Regions from separate parts of the Homo sapiens genome. Here regions 2, 3 and 4 are each linked to region 1. The links are contacts of gene promoters, found by promoter capture Hi-C in blood cells and fetal thymus (Javierre and others, 2016). All regions are on one chromosome and are shown on one strand. The core of a region is centred on a gene start or on the middle of the fragment in contact, and the rest is flanking DNA. Distances in the headings are between cores, read along the strand shown.

Region 1 (4,219 bases), core at 1,265-3,764:
ACATGGAATAAGATGAGCTTTTCCCCCATGCTATTGGAGTTTAACAGCTGGTTTATAGGAGGCTGGCCCATTTTTAATTACTGGTTATAGGAACTCTTCAGTCTTAGTAAGCCCAGTATCATTTCAGTCCACTGGTGGATCAAGCTTCGTTGTTATACCCTTCAACAGATGTTACTGAGATGTACCTACTGAGAATGACATTTGGGTCTTTCAAAATGTCTACTGAGAATGACACTTGGGTCTTTCAAAACTAAAACAAAGTTGAAAATTCAGTAAGTTCTTAATCCTGCAGGAGTTGCAAAACGTTTTATTCTTCGGACTGGTTGTAAATTAGTAAAGGTTTGGAATTGCCCTGGGAAAACCACCACCATGCATTCTTAGACTGTCTTTCTCAATTTACCTTCGGTACTGAATCCATCCACACAAGGTGACTTCTTGGCCTAAGTGAGACGAACGCAACTCTCCACATGTGTTGGTCCGGACAACAAAGCTACTGAATTCTTTAAAAAAAAAAAAAAAAAGAAACTTTAAAAGGCAAGATTAAAAATACATCACTTGCAGGTTGCTTAAAAATGAAAATTCTCAAAATATATCTTAGGTATGTCAGGGCTACAGGGGAAATTTATAAAATAAAATAAGTCAGAGTATGTAATTTAATTCATTCACTATTAAATTTACCTGCAAATGTGTCAAAAGCCAAGTGAATAACTGAATGTAAATTTCTGTCTTGTGTTAGGAAATCAAAATTTTTTTGATCTTCTAGCATTTGCATTGACCTAAAATCCTAATTACCCAATTCTTAATATTGCACATTTCTTCCTCAAATGAAATAGGATTTTAGAAACTGCAGAAATGGACGGTGTAGGAACTATTTAGCTTTAGTATGAATCTAGTGTTTAACAGCCACTTGTACACTAGAAAACACTATTATAATTCTGTGAAAAATGATTTTTTTTTTTTTTTGAGATGGAGTCTCGCTCTGTCGCCCAGGCTGGAGTGCAGTGGCGCGATCTCGGCTCACTGCAAGCTCCGCCTCCGAGGTTCACGCCATTCTCCTGCCTCGGCCTCCCCAGCAGCGGGGACTACAGGCGCCCGCCACCACGCCCGGCTAATTTTTTTTTTATTTTTAGTAGAGACGGGGTTTCACCGTGTTAGCCAGGATGGTCTCGATCTCCTGACCTCGTGATCCGCCCTCCTCGACCTCCCAAAGTGCTGGGATTAACGACGTGAGCCACCGCGCCCGGCCGAAGAAGGATTTTTTTAAGGCATCAACCAAAAGCAGAGTATTCTATATATTACGTGGTTACCTTTTTGTGGTCTTTCTAAAAACTCAGGGAAAAAAAACTGCCGTATAATGAATATAATGAGAGTGAATTTCGCTTCTACACATAAGGCTATCCAGTTAAGAACAGGGGAAAAGCCGGGCGCGGTGGCTCACGCCTGTAATCCCAGCACTATGGGAGGCGGAGGCGGGTGGATCACGAGGTCAGGAGATCGAGACCATCCTGGCTAACACAGTGAAACCCCGGCTCTACCAAAAATACAGAAAAATTAGCCGGGCGTGGTCGCGGGCGCCTGTAGTCCCAGCTACTCGGGAGGCTGAGGCAGGAGAATGGCGTGAACCCGGGAGGCGGAGCTTGCAGTGAGCGGAGATCGCGCCACTTCACTCTAGCCTGGGCAGCAGAGCGAGACTCCGTCTCAAATAATAATAATAATAATAATAATAATAATAATAATGGGGGAAAAAATGAAAAATGGAATAAAAGCTCTCCGGCCGTAGATAACAGGCTGAAGTACTGTTCATAGGATAGATCTCTTCGCTATTTTCACCTGGAATTCTCCTCTGTGAACTCTGCAACAGACTTCTGTAGAGAGAACCCCAGATCGGTTGGGTGGTCCTTCTGATGGGTCTGGATAAACCCCTGTACAGCTGACTTAACCAAGAAGGGAAGTACATGTTGGAGCCACACGATGGCGAAAAACAATCACGAAATCCCACGCTGCCGGTAGTTAAAAGTCAGTTTTGGAAATACACAGAAATCCCTTAAAATTCCAGGAGTTCCCACTCTCTTCTCGAATATTTAAGGCCTCCTCCGCACAACATTGGAGTACACGTGTCTAGAAACAAGACAAATCTCCAAGGTCTCTGGGGTGCTTGCTGGGGTGGAGATAAGGGAAAGACCTCTCCCTGAGTCTTAAAGCATCAGTCTGCACTTCTACTCAACAAGTCGGCAGCCAAAAGTGACGACGAGAGAGCGACTCCACGTAGCGGCGCCAGGCGCGAGCCCAAGACAACCAGAGGCGGTCACAAGGTATACGCCCTTCTCCTCTTTCCACGCTTCTCGAGAGGCTCCCGCGGCCAGAACCGGAAAACAAGGAGTAACAGTCGCGTTTCAAATCTCGCAGACCTGCTGGCCGATTTCGAGTCTTCTGAAAGAGGAAGGCGAGCAAAGCCAAAATTCTCCCAGAGCGCGAACCCAAACACAGATCGCCGCTGGGGTCCAAGCGCCCTTCAACTCCGCCCGCTAGTGCCCAAGATTACCGGGAAGGAATTCAACGAATCAGTGGTGAGGTGCCGCCGCCATGCCTACTACGGGCGGAAATTTGAGAGAAAGCTTCGCACCGGTAGGAAAACTGAGGAGCAACCGAGCACGATTGGAAAGGTTGACGATAGTGGTTAAGTGGCTCGGCCTTGCCCTCAGTTAAAATGGCAATTTTAGTTGCTTCACTGATACGGAATCGGCGAGGCGCCAAGGAGGCTTCCTGCGTGGGGCCGCAGAGCGAGTCGGGAAACGATTTTAAACTGAAGAGGCGGCGGAGGGCCGAATTCCCTTTTCTCAACGGCTTGATTTCAGAGCTGGGCTGGTCTCTGACAGGCTCAGCTGGAGAGGGACGGGTTGGGACGCACTGTCCTTTTGCCCTTCCCCCTCCGCGAGCAGAAGCTGACTCCGCAGGAGCGAGGGTCGCAGAGCTGGGTGAGCGGAAATGTCCCTCCCAGAGTGAAGTCGCAGGGCCCGCCCCGCGTCTGAGGGAGCGGAGGTCTTCCTGGGTGCGTTTGTGTCTCTTGTGAACCCACTTGTGGAGCGAGAGGGAATTTGGGAGGGCCAGGGGTTAGTCTGGCCTCTGTCTTAGCTGTCATTTTGGCGGTTTTTTTTTTTTTTCTTCAGGGGATTTCAGTCTCCACATAGTTTTGGAGCCGGACTTTTGAAGAATGATTCGTGAATCCGGAATGGGTGACAGCGTCATCACGGCATTTTATTGGTAAAGATGCTTTGTATTGGTCCCGGACCTGCTTTAACTTTGTATTTGCCCTGTTGTGTGGTCATTATCTTACAATACTTGCGTGTTGAGGTGTGTTTAAACACTACGTGCTTAACACTGGCTAAGTATTGGCATTGGGGCGGTTGGATTTAGGTATTGGTGGCAATGTAGAAAAGTGATCAAGTCAGAGCCCCTTCACGGACTAATCACAAGAGAAACAACAAAGCTTTACTTGTGTGCTGTGAACCACAACTGCAAGTGGAATTGTCAAGAGAACTAGCCCTGCCAAGCTCAGGAAAACTTCTGAGGAGATGGCACATGGAAAATGGATAAGATTTACTGAGACAAACGGGAGTAGAGAAGTGTTTTTAATTGGCGATAAGGTGAATAAAAAGGCAGGGAGAACAGTAGAGTGATCATCTGTCTAGAGTAGGGGGTGCATGTTTGGGTATAGGGCTGTCATTTAACCTCTTAAAGAATTGTCTACTGGAACTTTCTTCACTCCCATCCCCCCACCCCCCAATGTTGTATACAAAACCTTAGAGGAAGTGTATGCAGAATGTTGGATTTTGGAAAGGCTAATGTCGATGGATCTTGGGGAAGAACTGAAGTAGTAGAAAATGAACCTGGATAGGATCAGATAATAAGATCAAATACAGTAGTGCCTTGAAAGCCAGACAGGAATTCTGATTTGACTTCATATAGATGTGTGGGAACTGTTATGGGATCTCAAGCAAGGTAATGATAAAAGTGGTGACAATGAAAGACTGATGATGGATTAGGGAAAGGGGCTAAGATTGGGAACAAGATAAGTAGCTATAATTGAGAATGAAAGTGAAGCCCACATCTAAGAGGACAAGTGTATATCTTTTTAAGAAATATGTCAGAGGCCAGGTGTGGTGGCTTATGCCTGTAATCCAGCACTTTGGGAGGCCAAGGCAGGCGGATCACCTGAGGT
Region 2 (4,219 bases), core at 656-3,155, 1.1 Mb after region 1:
CACCCTCCCACAAGACACATAGAAAAAAAAATAACTGTAAAGTCCACGCTGGAGTATGATCATTTGCTTGTTATGACTTTATGTGGTTTCATAAAAGGAGAGGGACAGTCATTATGTCACCGTGTTTGCAAAAATGGGAAAGAAAGAAGAGGAAGCAATAGAACTCCTGGAAAGCTACAGACCCAGTGCAGAGTGAAACCCAGTGGGGTATTGGGACGTTGGGGAAATTCCTCCAAGTCTGGAAAGCAAAAAACTGAGACACTGGATTTCAAGTTTAGAGTACATTCAAATTAGAAGTTTAAATTAAAAGTAGAAAAGAATACAGGTACAGGAGTGAATATTTGAGTTCAAGTGCCCTCTTTTTGGCAGATTCACTTCTTTGGACAGTTTTTCACTAATGATAGGTGTTTACTTCCTGATTCATGGTGGTGCTCTCAGTAGTGTGCCAGGATCGGGGGATTACGATTCGGCATTCCAGTGAGAGTTTAAGCTTTGTGAGACCTTTTGAACTGAGACTGTCGAGCCCTTCTTCTATAGTTCCAGTCCATTCAGCAGGCCCCGGTGAGAACATCAATTCCTTTATGGAACCAAGAAACTAACTAGGCAAAATATCGATTCCCCTACCCTAAGAATCATGATCCCCTGCTTTGTTCCTGAGAAAAGGGGTAGCTAGAAAACAGCTGGCCCTTTCCAACCTTCCAGAAACACCCTTGACACAGCTCCTGCATCCCCATGAGCTACCCGGTCTATACACTCCTACCCAGGTCTCTGAATATACAAGACTTTCCCATTTTTCTTGGGTCTCTGCCTTCTCCAGGGAACCCTATGCTGAGCTCTAACTAACTGACTGGGAACTACTGGATATCTAGATATTGCTATCTAGATATTGCTAGTCATCTCTTCTGAATTTTCCATGTTCATTTTGGAATAAGGAGGTGTGAAGTAATACATATAAGGAAATACAAATTGCTCAATAAACAGTAAGCGGCAAATTAGAGAAGGTACAATAGAGGACACAAAGACTAAAACGAAAATAATTTAAACTGGTAGTTCTCAAAATGGGAAAGCATCAAAATCATACAGAATGCATCTCCAAAATAAATACGTCCAGACGGCACCCAGATCCAGTGAATAAAAATGTCAGGGAGTGGAAAAAAGAGTACGATTTTTACAAAGCTCCGTAAGTGATTTCGATTCTCAACCCTATCTAAAGTCACCAGCTGAATGCAGATAGAATTTGTAACTGAGCCTGAGCATTTATTTTCGTGGCTATTTTCCTTCTGTTCATTTTGAAATAAAAAGTGTGCAGTGATCAGGTATAAGGAAACAAAAATTATCCAATGAATATTAAGCAATGAGTTAAATTAAAATTAGAATGTGATTCCTATTTTTCATTGACTACATTTTCTTCTTGGACATGTAAAACAATTCTTTTAAAACTCCTTTTTAGTTTAAGAAAACAGAATACATGAAGTTTCACAGAAAGAAATCAATGAACCCGAACACATAGAGAAGAGAATTTTCAAGTTAATTCTGTGGTTAATCTGCAGTCACTTCCTTTTTTTTTTTTTTTTTTAATTTTACTTTAAGTTCCAGGATACATGTGCAGAACATGCAGATTTGTTACACAGGTATACACTGTTTTAATTTTTATTGCTCTAATGTTTTTGGCATTCACAAGTACAAAACAATCAACAATCTTTTTTTTAGGTTGTCAGCCTAATTATTTATAATTACATATATGGAAAATAGATGTAGAATAGAAGATTGGGGAGATTGAACTAAAACTGGATTGATCCCCTAGAAGTTTTATTTTGTCATTTGGCTTTTTGTCCTAAAAGTAAAATGTCTCCAAAAATTAGCTAGTAAATAGTTCATTTTAGTTGTGTACTTATTCACAACCATTTACCGCAAGTGAACTTTAGAAGAAAGCCACCATGTTTATGTGAGGAGTTAGGATGGGGATAGGTCACATTGGCACATCTATGAGGGGCAGCCCCCAAGGATGCTTTAATACTCTACTAAACATTCTAAAAATCCCATAGGGCTTTGACCTCCCATATAACCTAATCCTAGTCAGAGGTGAGTTTACTGGCATCACCCAGCAGAAAAAGGCAGGTTCTGTGTGGGAGTAGAGATAATTAACAAGTAAAGTATGACTGGAGACTTGGGGGGCTGAGTAGTCAAAGCTGTGGTTTAAGTAACAATTTCAGTTTTGAGTAGTTGGGGCCCCTCTGATGGCTAGGAAAGCGATATTTGATAGAGAGCCAGACACTAGCTCTAAAGACCTCCCACCAGAAACTTCAGATCACCTAGAAGCAGGAAATGCTTGGTAGAACCGTTGGCAGCTCAGGATCTCTGGCCAATTTCTTAAAGGCCACATTTTAGAGTTGGAGTTGGGCTTCTCTATCATTTTCTAGTTCTCAACCTTAGTTTTCTTTTCCCCCAAGTTTAATTAAGGTAATAAGAAAAATGGTTTTGTTTATGTGGCTTCTGTCACTTAGTTCTTGGGGTACATTAAATTTTTAATTTACCAATATAAATAACTCACCTGTCAAACTTTTATTCATTCTCCAAGACCCTGTTTAGATTTCACCTACAGTATAAAGACTCACCTAATTACCCTTGGTAGTTAAGCACTCATGCTTTGTGCTGCCATTAAATTTTACAGATATCCTTATTACAGAAAAAAATATTACATTGTAACTTATGACATGTCTATCTCCTTCGGGCAAAAACCATGTTTTATTCATATCCTATCTCTGTTCTTTGGTTCTAACCTCAATTAACATTCTTGGGAAAAATAAAATAATGAGAGAAAAGAAGGAAGAAAGGAAGAGGAAAAGAAAAAACAATAAAACCTTCTTTATTTAAACAATTATTCCTAGAGGACAAGAATTCAGTTCATCCTTTGCTCACATGAAGTGATTGGAATGAACAAAAACAGACTTGCAGACAATGTGTTGAAAGAGTAGGTCAACTTTTCTTTCTACGAGGCCATCTCTCAAAAGCAGCTTATGTCTCGGAAGTGTTTCAGATCACTGTGTCTGGAAACTCTGTAGTTCCTTTCCCAGGAAAAAGACCAGGATGTCTGTTTGGCTTAAAAGCCCTTAAGAATAGCTTAAGTTATACATCCCAGTCCTCCAAATGAGTGGAAGTGCAAGGTTCTACATATAGCACCTGCTCAATAAATACTTAGCAAAGTTACACAGGAATTTCTTGAAGAAATAGACAATTCATCTGAAATGAATTCTATTTTCACTGGAGGAAAACTAAAGTCTGCACCAACTGCTCCAGAATGACCAAAGAGAGCAAGCTTAGGCTCAGCTTTCCAAGTTAGAACTGATGGCTAGTGCTCTTCCTGGGGCGGGGGGAAATGAATTCATAGTGAATAAATAGCTGGTTTTAGAAAAACTGAAAAAAAAATTTTGAAAAGGAGACTATAGAGGCACAATCTGCGAAAGTTACTTTACTATAAATATGGATTTGCGCCTGCCCTTTTTTTTTTTTGACGGAGTCTCGCTCTGTCCCCCAGGCTGGAGTGCAGTGGCATGATCTCAGCTCACTGCAAGCTCTGCCTTCCCGGTTCACGCCATTCTCCTGTCTCAGCCTTCCGAGTAGCTGGGACTACAGGCGCCGGCCACCACACCTGGCTAATTTTTTTTTTTGTATTTTTAGTAGAGACAGAGTTTCACCATGTTAGCCAGGATGGTCTCGATCTCCTGACCTCATGATCCACCCACCTCAGCCTCCCGAAGTGCTGGGATTACAGGCATGAGCCACCGCACCTGGCCGTGCCTGCCCTTTTAAAAGACAATTGGATAGAAGTTCGGAAACGTAGAATTCTAATTCTGCTGTTGACAATTAATAGATAGATGACTTTAACAAGTCATTTTTCATTTTCTGTGCCTCAGTTTCCTTGTCTCTTCAAGACGTATAACAATCCCTGATACACCTCGGAGTTGTGGTAATTCCAAACAGTTATGTGATCAAATTCTCAGCAGTTTAAACTCCTCAGAATCCTCTAACAGCGGCTCTTTGTGTCTAGACAATGAGAAAAGAAATGTTTGTGAAATAAGTGGAATGGAACAGGAAGAATGAATTTTCTGGCTTAATTTTCTGATTTCAAAGAAACTTATTCTTTCAGGAGGATGTTTTGATCAATAAGATGAAAAGTATTCAGTAACATCCAATAGCTTTTCAAAGCTCATGTCATTGT
Region 3 (4,219 bases), core at 679-3,178, 1.0 Mb after region 1:
TAGATTTTCATCCTTCAAGGATTTTTTTAAATGGTTCTGTCTTAGAGTTACCCAAAAGCAGACACTGAAACAAGCAGTTGGGTACAAGCAGTTTATTTTGAGAGGTGATCTAAGAAACACAGGTGAGAAAGTGGGAAAAATGAAACAAGGAAAAGCAAAAAGCCGATAAGGGATATATTAACAAGTGGGTTATCAGTGTGGGCAACTGGGACTGAGCTCTCTTGAGGACCTTATGAGAAATCATATGGAACATGTGTCAGGAATCCTACTCCCCCTTCCCCAACGCACACATACGCACACACAAACACTTCTGGGTAGCACTTGCTTGTTTTGATGGTTATCTCAGAGATGAGGAACAAGGCTAATGTCAGGAATCCAGATGGTACTCATATTTGTCACGAAAGACTCTCTAGCATGAGCTCATTGGTCTAAATAAAACTTTGCCAGAACTGGAAAAAGTTCACCTCTTCCCTCAGAACCTAAATGTCTCACATGTGATGGAAATAGTCAATTTTCTGACCCATGAACTGAGATCTCCCTCTTCTCAGACTCAGTCTTCATATGGTGAGGCAAGCCAACATCAAGATCAGAGAATTATTGAGAGCTACTTAGCACCAACCTCAAATGCAATACCACTTAAAAATAAACTCAAAATGGAATAAATCTAACAATAAACTTAGCAAAAAGCCTCCTTACGATGTTTGGCTTAAAGGAAAGTAGCCTGCTCTGTCCCAGTTTGCGCAAAGTTTTCTAGATACCTATGAGCTCATGCTAGAGCTTCTGCCTGACAGACATGAGCACAATCTGGGTTTCTGACCTTGGGCTTTTCCCTGACATCTGAGATTGTAAGGGATGATATGGGGCGATAAATATAGTCATTTCTAGTACCTTTCACAGATAAATTATAATCTTGGGAAATGTTGCCTTGTTTAGGTCTGTGAGTAGCTGAGTGATATCCTACATCACCTATAGATCCTTATCTGAGGTACCTTCTGCCATTAGAGAACGTGTTTATTCTAATAACATAACTGAAAAATGAAGCCGAGAATCTTGAAGCTTTCCTTTTTGGCAGCTATGCTGGTTTCTGTTTGGAGACTGTCATTTATGTACCCCCTTGTGGAGCTGTAATCTCACTGCAATATCTCATTGCCACATTAACATATGCACCATACAACATCAATGTCAGCTCTTAGGGGGAAACATATCTGACAAAAAGCATCAAAATAAAAGAAAAATACTGACAAGAAGACAAAAAATTTTTCCTTCCAGAATTAACCAGAAAATGGTAACAAAGAAAGCAAACAGACACTAACAAGTGATTACCCTCACAGCTGGCATTTACACATAAAAGGACTTTGCCATATGATGTAATCCAAGGCATTGCAGGAAAATATGTAAGTGCAAGTTCTCCCTAGAGGACCCTAGGTTAGTGACCCACTGTTTCTGTTTCTGTTTCTGATTAAGAATTGAGTCGCAATTTACCAGGTAAGGTATTTTTCACAAGCACCTCATATAATCCACATAAGAACTTCATCGAGTATTATTGTCCTAAATTTACATATGATAAAATGAAGCTGAGAAACATTAAATGATTTGCCTAAGGTCACACAACCAGTAAGAGGCAAAGCTGGGACTGTCAGGAACTCAGCTGAGAGAGAGAGAGAGAGAGAGAGAGAGAGAGAGAGAGAGAGAGCTGAGTGGCCAGGTATCAGCGCAGCCTATTAAAACAACCAGTAAAAATGACAGGATTCAGCTTTTAATCACATGCTGCAATGGCATAAGCAAGAGGCTAAAACTGGCGGAGGCACTGACTCCCCCTGTTCCATTTTTCCCAAAAGAAAGGCACACCAATTAAGAGTCAGATGGATCATCATAGATATGAGAAGAGGAGTGCTGGGGAGAGAAGAGGAGAAGGGCTAGGGGTGGGGAAAATTCCTGAGTATTGGGTCAGAATGTGGAAACATGTCTTCAAGGTTTTTCCCTCCTCCTGCATAAGAAGGTTTCAGCAGAGGAACCTGAAGAAGGTCTCTGTCGGAGGTGTCAGAGACCTTGGAATGAAGGTTCCTGGGTTACGAAGGTAAATATGTGAAAGAGCATGATTGGCTGGGGGACCTGAGTCCTTGACTGCCACTCTCTCCTGAGGCTGCAGTGCATTGGCTATAAAGTCTGGTGAGGGAAAGGCAGATTTCCCCACGAGGCCTGCCAGGTAAAGCCATTGTAATTGCCTATGGTCAGGCCTGAAAATTCACACATGGATTTTAACCAGGGGCTGTACTCTTCAGGGACTTCTTCAGAGGACTTGAGATTGTAGTTTAATTTCATTCCCGCTGCACTGGGAGTAATTCCCACACATGGGGACACCATCTCTTTGTGTCTGTCCAGAATGGCATAAGCAGATTAACTACTACTCAAGTTGTCACAGAAATATTTTACATATGAGTACAAGAAAAGGAAGATAAAAGGTCGAAGAGGAAGCAAAATGGCAGAAGTGATTTTTTTTTAGGTTTGAGAACAGTAATGGTTATTACGATGAATTAAGGATAAATAAGCAATTGTTTTAAAAACTTTCTTTGTCATGGCTCCAGATACATTACTCTCTTTCTTTCTTCCTCCCAATTTCAGATCTTTTAATGCTTAACCCAGTGTACCAATCATGAGGTAACTGGTAACAATTCTTAAATGAAAAAATATTCATACAACACTAAATTTAGATCTTCCTATGTTTGTAGAACATACTGAATTCATGTAGAATTCATTAATTCCTCTCACTCTTTGATGGATACATGACAGTTAAGCTTTCTGAAGCCTACTTTGATAACTTTCAAGTAGCCAACCCTCACTGAGAATCATTTCTTGTAATTTTTTCCCTAAATTCTTCCTTTTTAAATCACTTCCTTATGAAAACAAAATTATTTTCTGGCTATTTGTAATGATAGAGAATAACACTGAATATTTAAAATGTTATCAGATAAAAGATCCAACCTGAGTTCAGCTCTAAAACTATAAGCTCTTCTTTGTCTTATTCTATCTTCCCAAGACTATTATGCCAACCTCATATCTTTTCTGTTTCTCTACCCCTGAAGATTATAGTTACTTCTCAGTCACTTCACTTCCAAAATAACATTCCTTTAAAAATCACAGTCAGCAGGGACTTCTGAGAGATTGTGTAGCCTCTCTGAAGCCCATAAAAGTAAGAGTAAAAATTGTTTGTCGCTGCATGGGTAAAGCCAGCATTTGAATTGTCTTCTTTCAAACATAGATATCCTGCAAATGGAAAATTAGAGTAACCTTGCCTCTCTCTGACTACCCTCACACCCAAGTTCAGCTTATTAGAAAGAAGCCAGTAAGGTAAAGGGAAGAGAAGTTTGCATCTCCACAATCTCCTTACATGTAGTGAGTTACTATTAGGTTGGTGCAAAAGTAATTGTGGTTTTTGCCACTTTATAATATAAAGTGCTGAATGTGGGGGCGGGTGTGTGTGTGTGTGATGTAGAGAAATAGGCATTAGTATAAGATGGCCATTGAGAGCTATAATGGCATCAAGAAATGTTTAAGTTTGCTTATGGCTTTGCTCCCCCTTCCTATAGAATCCTGTCGCTGTACTTGAGCCAGCCAATTAAGAGTCAGCTTGTTGACACACGTTAAATATGTGGTAATAAAGAAATGAGAAGAAAATAGTTTGCACAGTCCGAGTCAATTCTCATATTTCAAAAGAGAAACAAAGAATGCAACTGGCAATACGTAATCCGAATCCTCCCATCTTAGCTTCTCAAATAAAAGCAGATAGCTGTCAAGTAAGTAAAGCCCTTCTCTCAAAGACTATTCCTTCACTGTGATTAGGTTGACTCCCACCAAGAATTTCTTGTGGAACACATCTACCAGGCATGCAATATCCACGTCAAATAAATAAGAATGTTCATGAAGCTCACTGTTTTGAAGAAGTGGGTGCCAAGTGACCTATTATTTCTGGAGCCAGATGCCCCTGCGTCACTGGATTCTGCCATCTTCTGCCCTTTACAAGCAGAAAAGTCTCTCCTTTCCTTCTCAGCACCACCATGGCATTCTCTCATCCCTGTTTTTCTCCCCCACTTCCATCTTGTTTCTCTATCTTCACTCTTTGCCTTCTTTTCAGCCTCCTCCTCTTCTCCAAGCGGGCTTCACACTCTTCTCTCTGGCAGTGTGATGAGGCAGAAATCCCAGCTGGCACATATCATTCCAA
Region 4 (4,219 bases), core at 511-3,010, 1.0 Mb after region 1:
TAAGTAGAAGAATAAAAGAGATTAATAAGGGGGAGAAAAAGACTATTACTTCTATCTAATAGTTACTCAGTAAATGGTATTGAAAATTCATAGCACATTGATACAATACTGACTCTGGAGGGAAAATACAAAGCAGGCTTCCAAAGTATCCAAAATAAGGTAATTTTCATTTTCATTTCATATCTAGCAGAATCTGATATTTGCCAGGTCAGGGGTCTTTTCACTCAGGCCTTATTATGATATGGGATTAATAATGCTATCCCTGGGATAATCCTTCCACTTTCACCACCATCAAAAACACCACAATCCTCTGCTTGTCCCCAAACTGTCTGACTACACCAGCAAATAGACATGGCTAGAGGAAAACAAAACATTCTATTTTCATGTTGTTCAGGTGCCTGGAGTACATATCTGGCACATAGTAAATTAAATATCTGTTAACAAGTATTTGTTGTTAAGTTGTTCATTTGTTTTATAAAGACAGGTTCTTGTGAGCAAGAACTGTCACCCATACTGGAATGCAGTGATGCGATCACAGCTCATTGTAACCTTGAACTCCTTTGCTCAAATGATCCTTTTGCCTCAGCATCCTGGATAGCTAGGACTATAGGTGAGCACCACCATGCCCAGCTAATGCTTTTTATCTTTTGCAGAATCAAAGGTCCTTGTATGTTAGGCTGGTCTCAAACTCCTGGCCTCAAGCGATCCTCCTACCTTGGCGTTCTAAAGGGATTACTGGTATAAGCTACTGCACCTGGCCTATTTGTTGTTAAATGAAAACATAGTCTTCCTTAGGAGGTAAGATGAGTGACAAATTACTTGAAAACTTGGTCAGGTGTTTCATATTTATGTAAATTGGTGAGATTAAAGGATGGGACCCATGAATGAGCTTCGGGAGGGGGGTGTCCAAAGTTTTTTGTCTTGTTATTTTCTGTGTGTTTTTAATGAACTCCTCATGTGCTATGAATCAGAAATCTATAGGTTGTATATGTTTTTCTTACAGGATATTCTCTCCCACAAGTACCTTGATGTGCATGAGTGTTAGAATACTACTACATTGTAGAATGAGGTGGGAAGAAAGTGAGATCCTTTGATAAAACAGAAATCTTAAAGAACTGTAATAAGAATTGACATCAGGTACTCAGTCTCTCTCCCTCGATAGTTCTTTACCTCACTTTATAACCTAACAAGTGTGTGCTTTTAGCTTCATTAAACACAGTCCAAGAGTCAAAGGCAAAGCCTCATCACTTTGCCTTTCTTGTCATCCTAACCCAGTAACTCTTTTTTTCTCTCAAGCTGCACCCATTTCCATCATTTGACCTTCTATAATTCCCTCAACCATTCCTTCAAAGCTCAGTACTAATACCCTTTTCTCCCTTATTCCCACTTTTTTCAAAGTTCCCATCTTTTTCTCCTACCCTGAAAATTCCCCACCCCGTTTGTTCATCCCTCTTTATTTCATGCACTTATTCTTACTCACCCGATTTGACCTTTGTATTTGCTTTTCTTGTGGGGTTACCCATATTTTTTACTTTCTCTTTTCCATTTTTGTCACACCTCCTGCCAAAAAACAAACAAACAAACAAACAAACAAACAAAAAACCTTTTCTCCTAGAATCCCACTTCCTTGCTCTTCTCTCTAGGTTATTCTTACCTTTCTGCTCCTCTTGAATTATATAAAGCTTGACTTCTACATTCTTACTTAGAAAGAAAATGTAATGATTCTTAAATGTCTATTACTTGTGTCCTTGGATTTTACCCCAGAACTTTTTCAGCTTCATCTAGAGTTTTTATAGATCAATATTGGCATATAACAGGACCTCCTTGTTTCAAGCTTCTTCCCCTCACATATTCACTATAGTAAAGGAAACCACATAAGCTTTAGCAAATTGGAAGGGACAAAGCTGACAAAACCATAGAACACTCAACTTGCTCTTCTTCTTCTTATTTCCTCCTTCTGTATAACTTCTCTCTGGCAAATTGTGTCGTATTATATCAACTTGCATATGATTGATTCTCATATTATTTTTGATTATAAATAGTCACATATTAGTGACTATTATAAAAGGCGATATTTCTTAATGATTAAGTAGAAGAAAAAAGAGATTAATAAGGGGGAGAAAAAACTATTACTTCTATCTAATAGTTAGTAAATGGTATTGAAAATTCTTAGGACATATATATTCTTTATGTCCTTTTGTTTCTCTCTCCTCTCCTTCTAGGACTCCCATGGTACATATATTGGTATGTGAAAAAATAATGGCAGAAAATGTCCCAAACTGATGAAAATCTTAATCTACACATCAAAAAAGCTCAACAACTCCAAGTAGAATAAGCTGAAAGAGGTACACACCTACACATGTATTAGTCAAACTGTCAAAGATAAAAATGAATCCCAAAAGCAGCCAGCAAAAATGATTCATCACATACAAGGGATCTGCAATGAAATGAACAGCTGACATATGATCTGAAACTAAGAAGGCCAAAAAAGTTGGATGACATATTTAAAGTGCTAAAAGAAAAAGAATCTCACACAAAAATTCTATATTGAGCAAAATTTTCTTTCAGAAGTGAAGGGGAGTTTAAGACATTCTCAGATAAACAAAAACTGAGAAAATTTACTGCTAGCAGATCTCCCTCACAAGAAATAGTATAGGGAATTCTTCAGGCAAAATTAAACAACACTAGAGAGTAACTTGAATCCACACAAAGAAATAAAGAGCATAAGTAAAGTTAAGTACATGGTGAAATTGAGTTTGATATTGTCCAGTCTGAGGAACAAAAAGAAAAAAAAGCGTGAAGAAAAATAAACAGTTTAAGAGTCCTAGGGATCTGGTGAGAGGTAATTGAATCATGGGGTAGTTCTTCCATGCTATTGTCATGACAGTGATTAAGTTCTCATGAGATCTGATGGTTTTATAAGGGCTTCTCCCTTCACTCAGCTTTCATACTTCTCCATGCTGCCGCCATGTGAAGAAGGATGTGTTTGCTTTCCCTTCCACCATGATTGTAAGTTCCCTGAGGCCTCCCCAGCCATGTTGAACTGTGAGTCAATTAAACCTCTTTCCTTTACAAATTTCCCAGTCTCAGGTATGTCTTAACTAGCAGTGTTAGAACAGACTAATACAGTAAATTGGTACCACAGAGAGTGGGGTGCTGCTGTAAAGAAACCCAAAAATGTGGAAGTGACTTTGGATCTGGGCAGAGGTTGAAACAGTTTGGAGGCTCAGAAGCAGAAAGAAAAATGTGAAAATGTTTGGAGCTCCCTAGACTTGTTGAATGGCTTTGACCAAAATACTGATAGTGATATGGACAATAAAATGCAGGCTGAAGTGCTCTCAGATGGAGATGAGGAACTTTTTAGGAATGGGAATAAAGGTCACTCTTGCTAGGCAAAGAGACCGGCAGCATCTTTTGGTTCTGCCCTAGAGATCTGTGAAACGTTGAACTTGAGAGAGATGACTTAGAGTATCTGGTGAAAGAAATTCCTAAGTGGCAAAGCATTTAAGAGGATGCAGAGCATAAAAATTTGGAAAATTTGCAGCCTGATGATGTGATAGAAAAGAAAACCTCATTTTCTGGGGAGAAATTCAAGCCAGTAGTGGAAATTTGCATAATCACCAAGACAATGGGGAAAATGTCTCCAGAGCATATAAGAGACACAGCAGCCCCTCCCATCACAGGCCCGGAGGCCTAGGAGGGAAAAATGGTTTCATGGGCTGGGCCCCGGGCCCCCTTGCTCAATGCAGCCTCAGGACATGGTGCCCTGCACCCCAGCTGCTTCAGCTCTAGCTGTGGCTAAAAGGGGACAATGTACAGCTCAGGCCATTGTTTCAGAGGGCTCAAGCCCCAAGCCTTGGCACCTTATACATAGTGTTGGGCCTGTGGGTGCATAGAAGTCAAGAATTGAGGTTTGGGAACCTCTGCCTAGATTTCAGAGGATGTATGGAAATACTTGAATGTTTAGGCAGAAGTTTGCTGCAGAAGCAGAGCCCTCATGGAGAACTTTTGCTAGGGTAATGCAGAAGGGAAATGTAGGGTTAGAGCCCCCACAGAGACCCCACGGTGACACTGCCTGATGGAGCTGTGAGAAGAAGGCCACCATCCTCCAGACCACAGAATGGTAGATCCACTAACAGCTCACACCATGCACCTGGAAAAGCCACAGAAACTCAATGCCAGCCCAGGAAAGCAGCCTGGAAATGGGCTGTACCCTGAA

What was found. The method cuts DNA at HindIII sites, captures the fragments that hold promoters and counts their contacts. A CHiCAGO score of 5 or more calls a contact.
Region 2: a contact is called between a fragment that was not itself captured here and the fragment with the promoter of DARS2 in region 1, in 11 of 17 cell types (naive CD4 T cells, naive CD8 T cells, naive B cells and 8 more). The highest score is 18.9, in naive CD4 T cells.
Region 3: a contact is called between a fragment that was not itself captured here and the fragment with the promoter of DARS2 in region 1, in 7 of 17 cell types (naive CD4 T cells, naive B cells, naive CD8 T cells and 4 more). The highest score is 12.1, in naive CD4 T cells.
Region 4: a fragment that was not itself captured here is called in contact with the fragment with the promoter of DARS2 in region 1 in 3 of 17 cell types (total B cells, naive B cells and naive CD8 T cells); the score reaches 16.1 in total B cells.

Annotation. Positions count from the first base shown.
Region 1 is chr1:173,822,968-173,827,186 of GRCh38, reverse strand. It overlaps DARS2 (aspartyl-tRNA synthetase 2, mitochondrial), which reads right to left and starts at 2,514. Exons shown (of 17, transcript NM_018122.5): 1 at 1,831-2,514; 2 at 401-500. The coding sequence starts at 1,957. CENPL (centromere protein L) reads left to right here and starts at 2,304. Exons shown (of 6, transcript NM_001387287.1): 1 at 2,304-2,975; 2 at 3,168-3,261. RefSeq lists enhancers at 619-1,132, 1,774-2,291, 1,998-2,557, 2,292-2,810, 2,788-3,027. The HindIII fragment of the contact is 2,471 bases long and covers 147-2,617 here.
Region 2 is chr1:172,752,140-172,756,358 of GRCh38, reverse strand. No RefSeq gene overlaps it. Among named protein-coding and RNA genes, the nearest start is that of FASLG, 95 kb to the right of the region's middle. The HindIII fragment of the contact is 2,826 bases long and covers 493-3,318 here.
Region 3 is chr1:172,775,838-172,780,056 of GRCh38, reverse strand. No RefSeq gene overlaps it. Among named protein-coding and RNA genes, the nearest start is that of FASLG, 120 kb to the right of the region's middle. The HindIII fragment of the contact is 1,739 bases long and covers 1,059-2,797 here.
Region 4 is chr1:172,814,132-172,818,350 of GRCh38, reverse strand. It overlaps LOC107985225 (a long non-coding RNA gene), which reads left to right and starts at 654. Exons shown (of 3, transcript XR_001738297.2): 1 at 654-798; 2 at 1,004-1,137; 3 at 2,223-2,793. The HindIII fragment of the contact is 152 bases long and covers 1,685-1,836 here.